Linked DNA regions of Homo sapiens: regions 2, 3, 4 and 5 are each linked to region 1. Evidence: promoter capture Hi-C in 16 types of primary human blood cells and fetal thymus (Javierre and others, 2016). All regions are on one chromosome and are shown on one strand. The core of a region is centred on a gene start or on the middle of the fragment in contact, and the rest is flanking DNA. Distances in the headings are between cores, read along the strand shown. Region 1 holds the start of OR1E2 (olfactory receptor family 1 subfamily E member 2). Region 2 overlaps RAP1GAP2 (RAP1 GTPase activating protein 2). Region 3 has its middle 16 kb from the start of OR1D5. Region 4 overlaps LOC100288728 (a long non-coding RNA gene). Region 5 overlaps LOC100288728 (a long non-coding RNA gene).

Region 1 (2,526 bases), core at 20-2,519:
AAACTGGTGGTTTAACAATGAAGACGGAAATTTTAATTTAAATATTTTAAATCTTTAATTTAAAGATTTTCTTCACCTGGGATTAGCAAAAAGGAAAATCTTCCTAGCAGGTTACTGAGAACACCTTACTTCAACTACATATCCCCCCCACATCTGTTTTACTTACTCAGAAATTATGTAATATTACATTTAAACAAAAAGTTTCATGTGCAGAAAAAAAGAGATCTGAAATAATATTGAAATATTAATGTCCATGTATCTATTAGATAAAATTATATAAGACTCCCAAGTATTACTGTCATAGAAGGAAGGGATTTTTCCTTTTACAAATGACCCTTTCCAGGGCTCCCTTCATGTCTCTGTTCCTCAGGCTGTAGATGAAGGGGGTCAGCATAGGGGTCACCACAGTGTACATCATAGCCATGACAGTGTCCTTTAGAGTAGAACTATTAGCTGATGGGCATAAGTAGAGACCAATAACGGTCCCATAGAACAGTGACACCACAGAGAGGTGGGAGCCACAAGTAGAGAAGGCCTTGCAGATACCCTTAGAAGAAGGGACCTTGAGGATGGAGGAGACAATTCTTGCATAGGACCCAAGGATGAGTAGGAATGGGATGACAAGAATGAGCCCTCCCATGATAAATATCACCCATTCATTAACTCGAGTGTCAGAGCAGGCCAGCTTCAGCAGAGCAGACATATCACAGAAAAAGTGGGGGATCACATTGTCTGCACAAAAACACAACCTGGCCATGAGTAAAGTGTGTAACATGGCATGGAAGGTGGTCAGCACCCAGGACAGCGCCACCACGGAGAGACAGAGCATGGGGCTCATGATGGCGGTGTAGTGCAGGAGGAAGCAGATGGCGGTGTAGTGCATGGGGAAGCAGATGGCCACATAGCGGTCATAGGCCATGGCCACAAGGAGGAAGCTCTCTAGATCCGAAAAATACAAGAAGAAGTACATTTGGGTCAGGCAGTCTGCATAGGGGATGGATGGGTCTTGGTTCTGCATGTTCTGCAGCAATTTGGGCATTGTGACTGAGGAAAAGCAGAGGTCAGAGAAGGACAAGTTGCTGAGAAACAAATACACAGGCGTGTGGAGATGGGAGTCCAGTCGAATGAGGACAATGATGAGGAGGTTCCCCAGGAGGGTGGTAAGATACATGGCCAAGAACAGGGCATAGCACAGGTTTTGCTGCTCTGGTTGGATGGGCAGGCCCAGGAGCAGGAAGTCTGAGATGCTGGTTTGATTTTGTCCCATCATGCTCTGTCTCCAGTATCTTTAAGAGAATATAATAGGGTCCCTCAAAACCGTGAATAAAAATAAATATATTCCTATGATACATGGTCAACAGGTGTTCAATCACTGATTTCACCCTCATTTTCCCTAACAACAATCTCTATATTCAGAGATTTCTATAATTATTTCTATAATCAGAAATGTGCCACATCACAAAATCCACGCTACTTTTCACACTGATCCATCTCACTTTGCATAACATGTAGCAAGATTGACTCCTCCTTTCTTTCTAAAACACTCTTATCTATTAGCTTCCGTGCAATCACACTGGTTTCCTGACACATATTGGCCATTCCTTCTTAACAACTGTAAATGGTTTCTTCTCTAACAGTATCTTATACGTTGCTGTTTTCTGGGAATTTTTCCTAAATTCTGTTCTAATTCTACAGATCAAGCCCTGAAAGAGTTCACCTGTCCCCGTGACACTGATTACCATCTGAACTTCCTGGGTAAACCTATCATCATTAGTACTGCATTAGCAGTTGCTTCCTGATTATCTCCCTATGGATCATGACCATCCTCAGCTTAACAGATCCCAGATGAAACTCGTTATCTCACCCTGCCACTCTTCCAATTTGCTCCTCCAGTCTCTCATATCTCAGTAAAAGGAATCCAGGCTCAAGTCAGAAACCTGGGAGTTTTCTTTCATTTATTTATTTCTCTCAAGATCAACATCTAATCCTAGCAAGTTATATAGATTCTGTACTTCATTCTATTTCTAATTCACCCACTGCTTATCCCAGTTGCCACAATCTGGAACAGGCTGACATCTTTTCTTGTCTGGACTATTGGAATAGTCTCTTACTTCATCTCCCTGCTGCTATGCTCACTAGCCTTCAATCCATTCACACTGTGGCGTTCTTTTTTTTTTTTTTTTTTTTTTTTTGAGATGGAGTCTCGCTCTGTCACCCAGGCTGGAGTGCAGTGGCGCAATCTCAGCTCACTGCAAGCTCCTCCTGCTGGGTTCACGCCATTCTCCTGCCTCAGCCTCCCGAGTAGCTGGGACTACAGGCACCCGCCATCGCGCCCGGCTAATTTTTTGTATTTTTAGTAGAGACGGGGTTTCACCGTGTTAGCCAGGATGTTCTTGATCTCCTGACGTCGTGATCTGCCCGCCTCAGCCTCCCAAAGTGCTGGGATTACAGGCCTGAGCCACCGTGCCCGGCCACACACTGTGGCATTCTAAGATAAAAATCTGATCATCATTCTCCTGCTCAGAG
Region 2 (2,526 bases), core at 19-2,518, 410 kb before region 1:
GGGGTCCAAAAGTATTCTAAAATCAGATGGTGGTGATAGTTGCACAACTCTGAATAAACTAAAAGCCATTGCATTGTATACTTTAAATAGGTGAGTTCTGTGGTGTGTAGATTCTGTCTCAAGAACACTATTATTTAAAAAGTACATTGACGGCCAGGTGCGGTGGCTCACGCCTGTAATCTCAGCACTCTGGGAGCCCGATACAGGCAGATGACTTGAGGTCAGGAGTTCGAGACCAGCTTGGCCAATGCAATGAAACCCCATCTCTACTAAAAGTACAAAAATTAGCTGGCCATGGTGGTATACGCCTGTAATCCCAGCTGCTTGGGAGGCTGAGGCAGGAGAATCACTTGAACCTGGGAGGCGGAGGTTGCAGCAATCCAAGATCGCACCACTGCACTCCAGCCTGGGCAACAGAGCGAGACTCAGTCTCAAAAAAAGTGCATTGAGGACACGGCCATCCCATCCCCAACAGCCAGCACAGGGAGCACTGTGGGCACTGTCCATGGTCTTTGTTACACTAAAGGAGAAGGATATTGTTGGCTGAGAGTACCCCTTGCTTCCCAGCTCCCAGGGCAGCCTCCTCATGTGGGACCAGGAGCTCGTATTCTAGTCTATATGAAGGATGGCCCCCCGGGACTTCCCAGGAGTCCATGTGTATTGGGTGGTTCCTGCGGTGGGGGCGGATGTCATAGACTCTGCCATATTCCCTGCTCCATTCCCCACGGGGCCCTCTCTTGACCCACAACTCCGCCAGGTGTGATGGCCAGCTTGGGTGAGAGAGATCTGGGCTAGAGGCCGTCAAGCCAGGACTCCTGCTTGGCAGCTCTGGACTTCACCATGAACCTAGAATAGTCCCTGTTGTAGGGACCGGGAAACCCTGTAGTATGCCGCCATCTCTGGGGGGCTCAGGTGGGAAAGGACATCCAGGCAGTGATGCCAGGCGGGGGCGCTCTGACCCCACTGCCCCTCACCGTGCCGAGAGAGGCTCTGCCTGGGGCCGTGGATGGGGTGGGGGTTGAGGGCTGTCTCCGCGGCCTCACTCCTCATTTCCATTCCCTCAGTGACAGCACATCCAGCACACCCAAGACCCCAGATGGTGGACACTCCTCTCAGGAGATAAAGTCTGAGACCTCATCCAATCCCAGCTCTCCGGAAATCTGCCCCAACAAGGAGAAGTAAGAGAGTGAGGGTGGGAAAGGCCAGCTTCGGCCACGTGGAGCCCTGGAACACGCCCTCTGCCTCCTGGCCAGCTGAGAGTGGCCATCTCCTGCCTCTGGAACTCTCCAGAACACAAAGGCCGACGGGTGGGGGCGTGGGGAGCCGCCAGAGGTCCCGGGGAGGACCCTGGGGGTGGAGGGCTCTCGCGTGTGACCCGGGCTGGCCTCACTTCCTATTCCCTGCAGGCCCTTCATGAAGTTGAAGGAAAACGGCCGTGCCATCTCCCGCTCCTCCTCCAGCACCAGCAGCGTCAGCAGCACTGCAGGGGAGGGCGAGGCCATGGAGGAGGGCGACAGTGGGGTAGGTGTGCCCCGTCCACCCTTGGGCAGGCACTCTGGGGCGTCAGCCAGCCACCCTCCTTGCATTAAAACGGCACTGTGGATCGAAGCCCATGTCAGTCTTTGCAGAGGAAAGGGGAAGAATGGAAACGAGAGGTGGGCTCGTTGGCCATCACCACCCCCTGGGCGCAGTGGGTGAGGGGACCTCTCTCTCAGAGTGACATAGCAGCAGCAGAGGGCAGGGGCCAGACCCGATGGTGCCCTGCCTTGGGGTTCCTGGCTGGAGTGGTGAGTGGCCAGTGCCCCAGGGGGCTGGGTCAAAGGTCCTTCTTGGAGCAGGATAGCTTGGAACCAGGGTTGAAGTCAGCAGGAAAGAAAGAGCAGGCCCAAGTGGGGAGCAGGAGGCAGCGGCTGTCCTGGGCTTTTGGGGGCTGCCTCAGGCCTGCGTGGGCGCAGCTGCCGAGGGTGGGCTGGCCTCGCTCACCCTGCCTCTCTCCTCAGGGCAGCCAGCCGTCCACGACCTCACCCTTCAAGCAGGAGGTGTTTGTCTACAGCCCGTCCCCGAGCAGCGAGAGCCCCAGCCTGGGGGCAGCTGCCACCCCGATCATCATGAGCCGGAGTCCCACAGGTCAGTGGCATCTGGTGGTGTGTGTGACGTCACCAGGAGGGCAGGCTGTGCCCTGTCCACTGTTAGCAGGGCCCCAGCCACGCTGAACTGGCCAGTTTTCACCCCTCCTCCCAGCTGTGAGGCCCTCCGCTCTGTGCGCCCGCCTCTTCTGTTCATCAGCCTTAAGATGCCCAAGTTCCTAAGCTCTTCTTACACTGAGAGTTGTGAAGCTGAGGCAGAGAGTTGAAGGCCTTGTGGGAGATCCCACAGCGGAGGAGTCGGGATTGGCAGTGGGAAAGCTGAGCACTTTCCATTAGCCCTTCTCCCCACCTGCCAGTGCTCCAACCCTTCTCCCCACCTGCCAGCGCTCCAGGGCTGCCAGGGCCCGTCTGTCATGTCGGGGGTCTTGATAATACAAGA
Region 3 (2,526 bases), core at 11-2,510, 350 kb before region 1:
ATTTTAAAAATGATTCTAGCTAAGAGTTTGTTAATTTTTTCACATTTTTCCCCAAAAAACGATGTCTACTTTTGTCTATTTTTGATATTATTTTATGTTTCATTTATTTCTGCTCTATTCTTTATTATTTTCTTCCTTCTGCTAACTTTGGGTTTAATGTCTTATTTTTTACTTCCTTAAGTGTAAAGTTAGGTTGTTTATTTGAGATATTTCTTCTTTCATAATGTAAGTTTCTCACTGTCAATTTCCCTCTTAGTACTGCATTTGCTGCAACTTTTAAGTTTTTGTATGTTGTGTTTATTTTCATTGTTTTCCCTGAAATATTTTTTAATTTCCTTTTTAATTTCTTCGAGTCAATAGTTGTTCAGGAGTGTTTAATTTTCATATAATCTATAATTTTCCTATTGTTATTGAATTCATTTTTCATTTTTAATAGCCAGAAATGGCACACAGAATGATTTCAATCTTCTTAAGTTTGTTAACAATTATTTTGTAACCTAGCATGTGATTTTTCTTGGAAAATGTTCCATGTCTGTTTTAGAAGAATGTGTTTTCTGCTGCTGTTGGGTGGAATGTTTTGTACATGTCTGACTCATACATTGGTTTATGGCATTGTTCAGATCTGGTGTTTCTTTGTTGATTTTCTGTTCAGATTATAAATCCTTTATGGAAAGTGGGATATCAAAGTCTCCTACTATTATTTTATTGCTTTTATGTATCCCTTAAAATCTGTCAATGTTTGCTTTATATAGTTAGGTGCTCTGATGTTTGGTACATGTATATTTATAATTGTTATATATTCCTGTGGAATCAACCATTTTGTCATTATATAATGACCTTCTTTGTCTCTTGTAACAGCTTTTGAATTAAAGTCCATTTTATCTGATGTAAGTATAGCCACCCTGGACACTTGGTGTATTTGTTTGTTTTGACACTGTTGTAAAGAACTACCTGAGACTGGGTAAAGACTAGGTAAGGCAAAGAGCTTTGATTGACTCACAGTTCTGCATGGCTGGGGTGGCCTCAGGAAACTTACAATCATGGTGGAAGGCAAAGGGGAAGCAAGGCACATCTTACATGGCAGCAGGAGAGAGAGAAGGGGAGGGTGAAGTGCCACACTGTTAAACCATCGGATCTCATGAGAACTCACTCATTATCATGAGAGCAGTATGGGGAAAATCTGCCCCCATAATCCAATCACCTCATACCAGTTCCCTCCGCTGAAATGTGGGGATTACAATTCCAGATAAGATTTGGGTGGGACACAGAGCCATATCATATTATTCCAACCCTGGCCCCTCCCAAAATTCATGTTTTTCTCACATTTCAAAACCAGTCATGCCTTCCCAACAGTCTTAACTCATTCAGGCATTCAAAATTTTCAGTCCAAAGTCTCATCTGGGACAAGGCAAGTCCCTTCTGCCCACTACCCTGTAAAATAAAAAACAGGTTAGTTACTTTGATACTTCGAAGATACAATGGGGATATAGGAATTGGGTAAATGCTCCCATTCCAAGAGGGAGAAATTGACCAAAACCAAGGGGCTACAGCCCTCATGCAAGTCCAAAACCCAGCAGGGCAGCCATTAAATCTTAAATCTCCAAAATAATCTCCTTTGACTCCATGTCTCACATCCAGGGCACACTGATGCAAGAGGTGGGCTCCCAAGGCCTTGGGCAGCTCCACCCCTGTGGCTCTGCAGGGTACATACAGCCCCTGCAACTTCTTTCATGGGCTGGCATTGAGTGCCTGTGGCTTTTCCAGGCACCTAGTGCAAGCTGTTGGTGGATCTACCATTTTGGGGGCTGGAGGATGGTGGCCCTCTTCTCACAGCTCCACTAGGCGGTTCTCCTATGGGGGGCTCCAGCCCCACTGCATTGCCCTAGTAGAGGTTCTCCATGAGGGCTCTGCTTTTGCCACAGACTTCTGCCTGGAAATCCAGGCATTTCCATACATCCTCTGGAACCTAGGCTGAGATTCCCAAACCTCAACTCTTGTCTTCTGCATACCTGCAGGCCCAACACCACGTGGAAACCACCAATGCTTGGGACTTGTACCCTCTGAAGCAATGGCCTGAGCTTTACCTTGGCCCCTTTTAGCCATGGCTGGAGCTGGAGTGGCTGGGATGCAGGGTGCCATGTCCCATGGCTGCATTGAGTCTTCTAGTCTTCCATGCCTGTGATTGAAGGGGCTGCTGTGAAGGTCTCTGAAATGCCCTGGAGACATTTTCCCCATTGTCTTGACTATTAACATTCGGCTCCTTGTTACTTATGCAATTTCTGCAGCCAGTTTGAATTTCTCCCCAGAACATGGGTTTTTCTTTCCTACTGCATGGCCAGGCTGCAAATTTTCCACACTTTTATGTTCTGCTTCTCTTTTAAACATAAGTTCCAATTTCAGATAATGTCTTTGTGAATGCATATGACTATAGGCTTTTAGAAACAGCCAGGTGACATCTTGAATGCTTTGCTGCTTAGAAGTGTCGTCCACCAGATAACCTAAATAATCACTCTCAAGTACAAAGTT
Region 4 (2,526 bases), core at 16-2,515, 280 kb before region 1:
CCCTTGCGCTTCCCAAGTGAGGCAATGCCTTGCCCTGCTTCAGCTCGCGCACGGTATGCGCACCCACTGACCTGCGCCTACTGTCTGGCACTCCCTAGTGCGATGAACCTGGTACCTCAGAGGGAAATGCAGAAATCACCCTCTTCCGCGTTGCTCATGCTGGGAGCTGTAGACCGGAGCTGTTCCTATTCAGCCATCTTGGCTCCTCCCCAAGAGAGAGCTTTGTTTTAATAGCTGCAAATATTTTTGATTCATAACCTTGAGACAATTTGTATAATTTCCTATTTTTTGTAGGAAAACATACTTGTTCACTTAAAGTTGTAAAGTCTTTCTTTGCCATCTGATATTGACTTTATTGCTAATATTGTTATTAGCCCACTTTCCATGACTTCATTAAGTTTTAATAAACTAGCATATAACAGGCTACACGGGCTTTTAGAATTAAAAGCATTGCAAAAGTCACGCCTCCTTGTGAAAAATTATTAATAGGTTAAATGAGCAAATAAGGCGCTCTTCACAGATGAAGCACGAAGCAAAATCTTGATTTTCCTTCAAACTTGCAGTGCGCATTCAGGGAGGGGAGTGCTGAGAAGGGATATGTGGGATTCCGAAATTACACACTTGAGGTAGAAATTTCTGTCAAGCCCCTCACTGGAGGGGATGGAGAACACCTTGGGTTTCTCAGCAGAAGTCACTGGCCCTGTGAGAAGGAGACCCTGCCCTTGAGAAGTCTAACCACCGCCGCCTTCATGTCCTTGTTCCGCATGCTGTAAATAAAGGGGTTCAGCAGGGGAGTCACCACTGTGTACATGACAGCAGCCGCTGTATCCTCCTTTACTGAGTTGGAGGAAGAGGATGAGGGGCACAGATAAGCCCTGATCACTGTCCCAAAGAACAAAGCAACAACAACGAGGTGAGAGTCGCAGGTAGAGAAGGCCTTGCGCCTTCCCTGGGCAGAGGGGGCCCTGAGGATGGCTGAAACAATGCGGATATAAGAGACCAGGATGAGCATAAAAGGGATTAAAATGACTGCTCCCCCTAGGAAGAGGAGCACAAGCTCATTGACCTGGGCGTCAGAGCAAGACACCTTCATCAGCGGTCCCAAATCACAGAAGAAGCCAGGAAGGATCTAAGAGCACAAGGAAAGCCGGAATATGAGGAAGGTGCGAGTCATGGCGAGAAGACTTGTGAGGGTCCAGCAGGCTGTCACCAGGAAGGCACAGCGGTGGAGGCTCATGATCATCATATAGTGGAGCAGGTGGCAAATGGCCACATAGCGGTCATAGGCCATTGTAGCCGGGAGAAAGATGTCCATGTCCCCAAAAGTCAAGAAGAAGTAGAGCTGTGCCAAACACCCTGCGTAGGAAATGGACCTGCTCTGGGTCTGGATATTCACCAGGGCCTTGGGCACAGTGGTGGAGGTGGAAAAGATATCTGCACACGACAAGCTGGCAAGGAAGAAGTACATAGGGGTGTGGAGGTGTGTGTCAGTGCCAATGGCCAGGACAATGAGCAGGTTCCCAGCCACAGTGACCACGTACATCCACAGAAACAGCAGGAAGAAGATGTGTTGCTGCTGTGGCTGGTCTGAGAGTCCCCAGAGGAGGAACTCAAAGGTGCTAGTCTGATTCCCTCCTTCCAGGAGCTCAGAGGTCGGAGGAAAAAAATCTTGAGTGAGCCCCATTAGAATTCTATAAAAATGTTTTACTTTAGATTGGTGAGCATGCTATTCTCTGAGCTTTAAGGAAGAAGAAGAAGAAAGAAAGAAAGTACTTTTATTGGCCATCTACTATGTTGCACTGTAAATTTTTACTGAAATACACTATGCTAGAAAGTGTGCGAGATACAACATAAGGTAATTAAAATACATTTCTCGTTTGTTTTTCTACACTCTTTTCCATCCCAAATTTCTTTAGTTGTACTCTCAGAGGAGTTAAGATGCTTTCTTTCATTAATTTTACAGAAATTAATTACTGACTCTGGACCTGGCACAGTGATAACCCTTAACCTCAGGGAATTTTCGATCTAATGGGCTAGACATAACTGCTTCTATTAAAATCTTATATGAGTTGGATACAAGTTTTCCAGCCATTCACCTGCTTTCAAACCACTCTCAGACCCCAAGACTGCACCTGTTCTGATTAATCAAGCCCAAAACTCAATATTCTCTGAAGATGCAATTTCATGTTATCTATTCTTCTGGAAACCAATTCAACAATCAACTATTTAGAGAATCTGATTTGTTCTTTGGAGTTTCACTGACACCTCAAAAAGTAACCTGTATATAGTGGGTCTTTACTAGTCTCCAGAATCTTAAACAGGACAGGACCGAATGTGTCCTGAAAGAGAAGCTGAAGGCCAAAACTCAGCAATCAGGTAACTCAACCCAGGGTTACCACTGGAGAAGCAGGTAGGGCTATTCTGATGGAAGAGGCCTTCATATGGATAGAAACATCAGCAATAGGCCGGGTAAGCTGACTCAGGCCTGAAATACAGCACTTTGGGAGGCCTGGGTGGGCAGATCAC
Region 5 (2,526 bases), core at 19-2,518, 260 kb before region 1:
TCCAAGACAATGTGAAAAAGTCCTTGAAAGCATTTCAGAGACCTTCATGGCAGCCCCTCCCATCATGGATCCAGAGGCCTAGGAGGGAAGAATGGTTTCTTGGGCCAGGCTCAGGGTTCTGCTGCCCTGTGTAGCCTTGGGACACTGTTCCCATATCCCAGCCACTCCAGCTCCAGCTGTGATTCAAAGGAGCCCAGGTACAGCTCATGCTGCCACTTTGGAGAATGTAAGCCATAAGTCTTAGTGGCTTCCATGTGGTGTTAAGCTTGCAGGGGCACAGCAAGAGTGAAGGAGGCTTGGCAGCCTTCACCTAGATGCCAGAGGATGTATGGGAAAGCCTGACATCCAGGCAGAAGTCTGCTGCAGAGGCAGAGCCCTCACAGGGCAGTAAGGAGAGGAAATGGGGGATTGGAGGACCCATACAAAGTGTGCCCACTGGGGCACAGCTTAATGGAGCTGTGGAAAAAGGGCCACCACCCTGCAGACCCTAGAATGGTAGATCCACTGGCAGCTTGCACCCTATACCTGGAAAAGCCACAGGTACTCAACTCCAGGCCATGAGAGAAGCCACAGGGGCTGAACCCTGGAAAGCCACAGTGGTAGAGCTGCCCAAAGCCTTGGGAGGCCATTCCTCATATCAGTGTGCCCAGGATGTAGGACACGGAGTCAAAGATTATTTTGGAGCTTTGAGATTTAATGACTGCCCTGCTGGGTTTCAAGCTTGAGTGGAACCTACAGCTCCTTTCTTTTGGCCAATTTCTCCCTTTTGCAATGAGAATGTTTAACCAATGCCTATAGCCCCATTGTATCTTGGAAGTCCATAACTTGTTTTTGATTTTATAAACTCAGGTGGAAGGGATTTGCCTTGTCTTGGATGAGAAATTGAACTTTTGGAACAAGTTAAGACTTTGGGGGACTGTTGAGAAAGCATGATTGTGTTTTGCAATGTGAGAAGTACATGAGATTTGTGGGGGACCAGAAATGGTATTATATAGTTTGGATATTTGTCCTTGCCCAAATCTCATGTTGAATTATAATTTCCAGTGTTGCAGATGGGGCCTGATGGGAGGTGTTTGGGTCATGGGTGGAGATTCTCCATAGCTTGGTGCTTTCTTGTGATAATAAGTGAGTTCTTGCAAAATATGATTAAGTGTGAAGCACGCCCCTTCCCCACCTCTCTCTCTATTGCTCCCATTCTCACCATGTAAAGTGCCTCAAACTTCCACCATGAGTAAAAGCTATCTGAGGCCTCCCCAGAGGCAGATGCCAGTGTTATGCTTCCTGTATAGGCTGCAGAACCATGAGCCAATTAAACCTCTTTTCTTTTAAATTATCCAATCTCAGGTATTTGTTTATAGAAATGCAAGAACAGCCTAATACACCTGTCAGTATTTCTTATGGGCCTGTGGTGGTGGTGGACATGGGGAGAGACTCCTCTGTCTGAGGAAAGGTGGGGGAAGAGTGGGAAGGCCTTTTTCTTGTGGTTTGGGTGTCATCTTCAGATGCAGTAAATTGAGCACCAGGTAGATTTCTAAGGCTTCCAACTATAGGCCCTGGCTCCCAGATGGCATCTCTGGACTCACCCAGGGCCTGGGTGACTTGGCAGTCCAAAGTGAAGAAGACAAGCCTGGTTGTCTTTACCACCTGCTGACTGTAGAGCCCTAGGGCCTTGAGCAAACACAAGTGGTAGCCAAGGAGTGGTAACAGTGGGTCTTGGATGATACCCAGTGCTGTGCTGTCTTCAGGTCTGACCCAGCACAGCCCTAGTGGTGGTGGCCACAGGAGTACTTGTGTTACCCCTCCCCCAGGAAGCTCAGGAAGCTTCCAGGAAGCTCAGCACAGAGAAGGGGAGAGAGAGATTCCATTTGTTTTGGAAAAAGTAAGGGAAGAGATCAAAAGTTTCTGCCTGGTACTCCAGATAATCCTTCTGGACCTTATCCAAGACCACCAAGGAGGTAGGTACCTCTACAAGTTGGCAAAAACCACAGCATTACTGAGCTTGAGGTGCACCCTAATGCAGATATGGCTGCAGTGACAAAAAAAAATGTAGATCACAACACCCAAGTCCCTTCAAATACCTAGAAAGCATTTCCAAGAGGACAGGTACAAACAAGTCCAGACTGGCAAGACTACAATAAATATCTAACCCTTCAATCCTCAGCCACTGAAAAACTTCCACAAGCATCAAGACAATCCAGGAAAACACGGCCTCACCAAATGAACTACATAAGGTAAGAGGAACCACTCCTGGAGAAACAGAGATATGTGAACTTTCAGAGAGAGAATTCAAAATAGTTGTTTTGAGGAAACTCAAAGAAATTCAAGATAACACTGAGAAGGAACTCAGAATACTATCAGATAAATTTAACAAAGAAATTCAAATGGATAAAAAGAATCAAGTAGCAATTCTGAAGCTGAAAAATGCAATTGACCTGCAAAAGAATACAGCAGAGTCTCTTAATAGAAAAAATGATCAAGCAGGAGAAAGAAATAGTAAGCTGGAAGACAGGGTATTTGAAAATACAC

What was found. Contacts are between HindIII fragments. The CHiCAGO score rates a contact against its expected background, and 5 or more counts as called.
Region 2: a fragment that was not itself captured here is called in contact with the fragment with the promoter of OR1E2 in region 1 in 2 of 17 cell types (M0 macrophages and M2 macrophages); the score reaches 5.8 in M0 macrophages.
Region 3: a fragment that was not itself captured here is called in contact with the fragment with the promoter of OR1E2 in region 1 in 2 of 17 cell types (M2 macrophages and M1 macrophages); the score reaches 7.6 in M2 macrophages.
Region 4: a fragment that was not itself captured here is called in contact with the fragment with the promoter of OR1E2 in region 1 in 2 of 17 cell types (M0 macrophages and M2 macrophages); the score reaches 5.9 in M0 macrophages.
Region 5: a contact is called between a fragment that was not itself captured here and the fragment with the promoter of OR1E2 in region 1, in 1 of 17 cell types (M2 macrophages). The highest score is 6.8, in M2 macrophages.

What each region holds. Positions count from the first base shown.
Region 1 is chr17:3,432,572-3,435,097 of GRCh38, forward strand. OR1E2 (olfactory receptor family 1 subfamily E member 2) reads right to left here and starts at 1,270. Exons shown (of 1, transcript NM_003554.2): 1 at 299-1,270. The coding sequence starts at 1,270. The coding sequence ends at 299. The HindIII fragment of the contact is 9,794 bases long and covers 1-2,526 here.
Region 2 is chr17:3,024,944-3,027,469 of GRCh38, forward strand. RAP1GAP2 (RAP1 GTPase activating protein 2) reads left to right here. Exons shown (of 25, transcript NM_015085.5): 20 at 1,065-1,178; 21 at 1,407-1,521; 22 at 2,001-2,127. Among named protein-coding and RNA genes, the nearest start is that of OR1D5, 37 kb to the right of the region's middle. The HindIII fragment of the contact is 6,980 bases long and covers 1-2,526 here.
Region 3 is chr17:3,078,000-3,080,525 of GRCh38, forward strand. No RefSeq gene overlaps it. Among named protein-coding and RNA genes, the nearest start is that of OR1D5, 16 kb to the left of the region's middle. The HindIII fragment of the contact is 4,058 bases long and covers 1-2,526 here.
Region 4 is chr17:3,153,199-3,155,724 of GRCh38, forward strand. All of the region lies in intron 3 of LOC100288728 (a long non-coding RNA gene), which reads right to left. It also overlaps the pseudogene OR1P1. Among named protein-coding and RNA genes, the nearest start is that of OR1G1, 27 kb to the left of the region's middle. The HindIII fragment of the contact is 5,658 bases long and covers 1-2,526 here.
Region 5 is chr17:3,171,364-3,173,889 of GRCh38, forward strand. The region is part of intron 1 of LOC100288728 (a long non-coding RNA gene); the gene reads right to left. Among named protein-coding and RNA genes, the nearest start is that of OR1A2, 25 kb to the right of the region's middle. The HindIII fragment of the contact is 1,101 bases long and covers 719-1,819 here.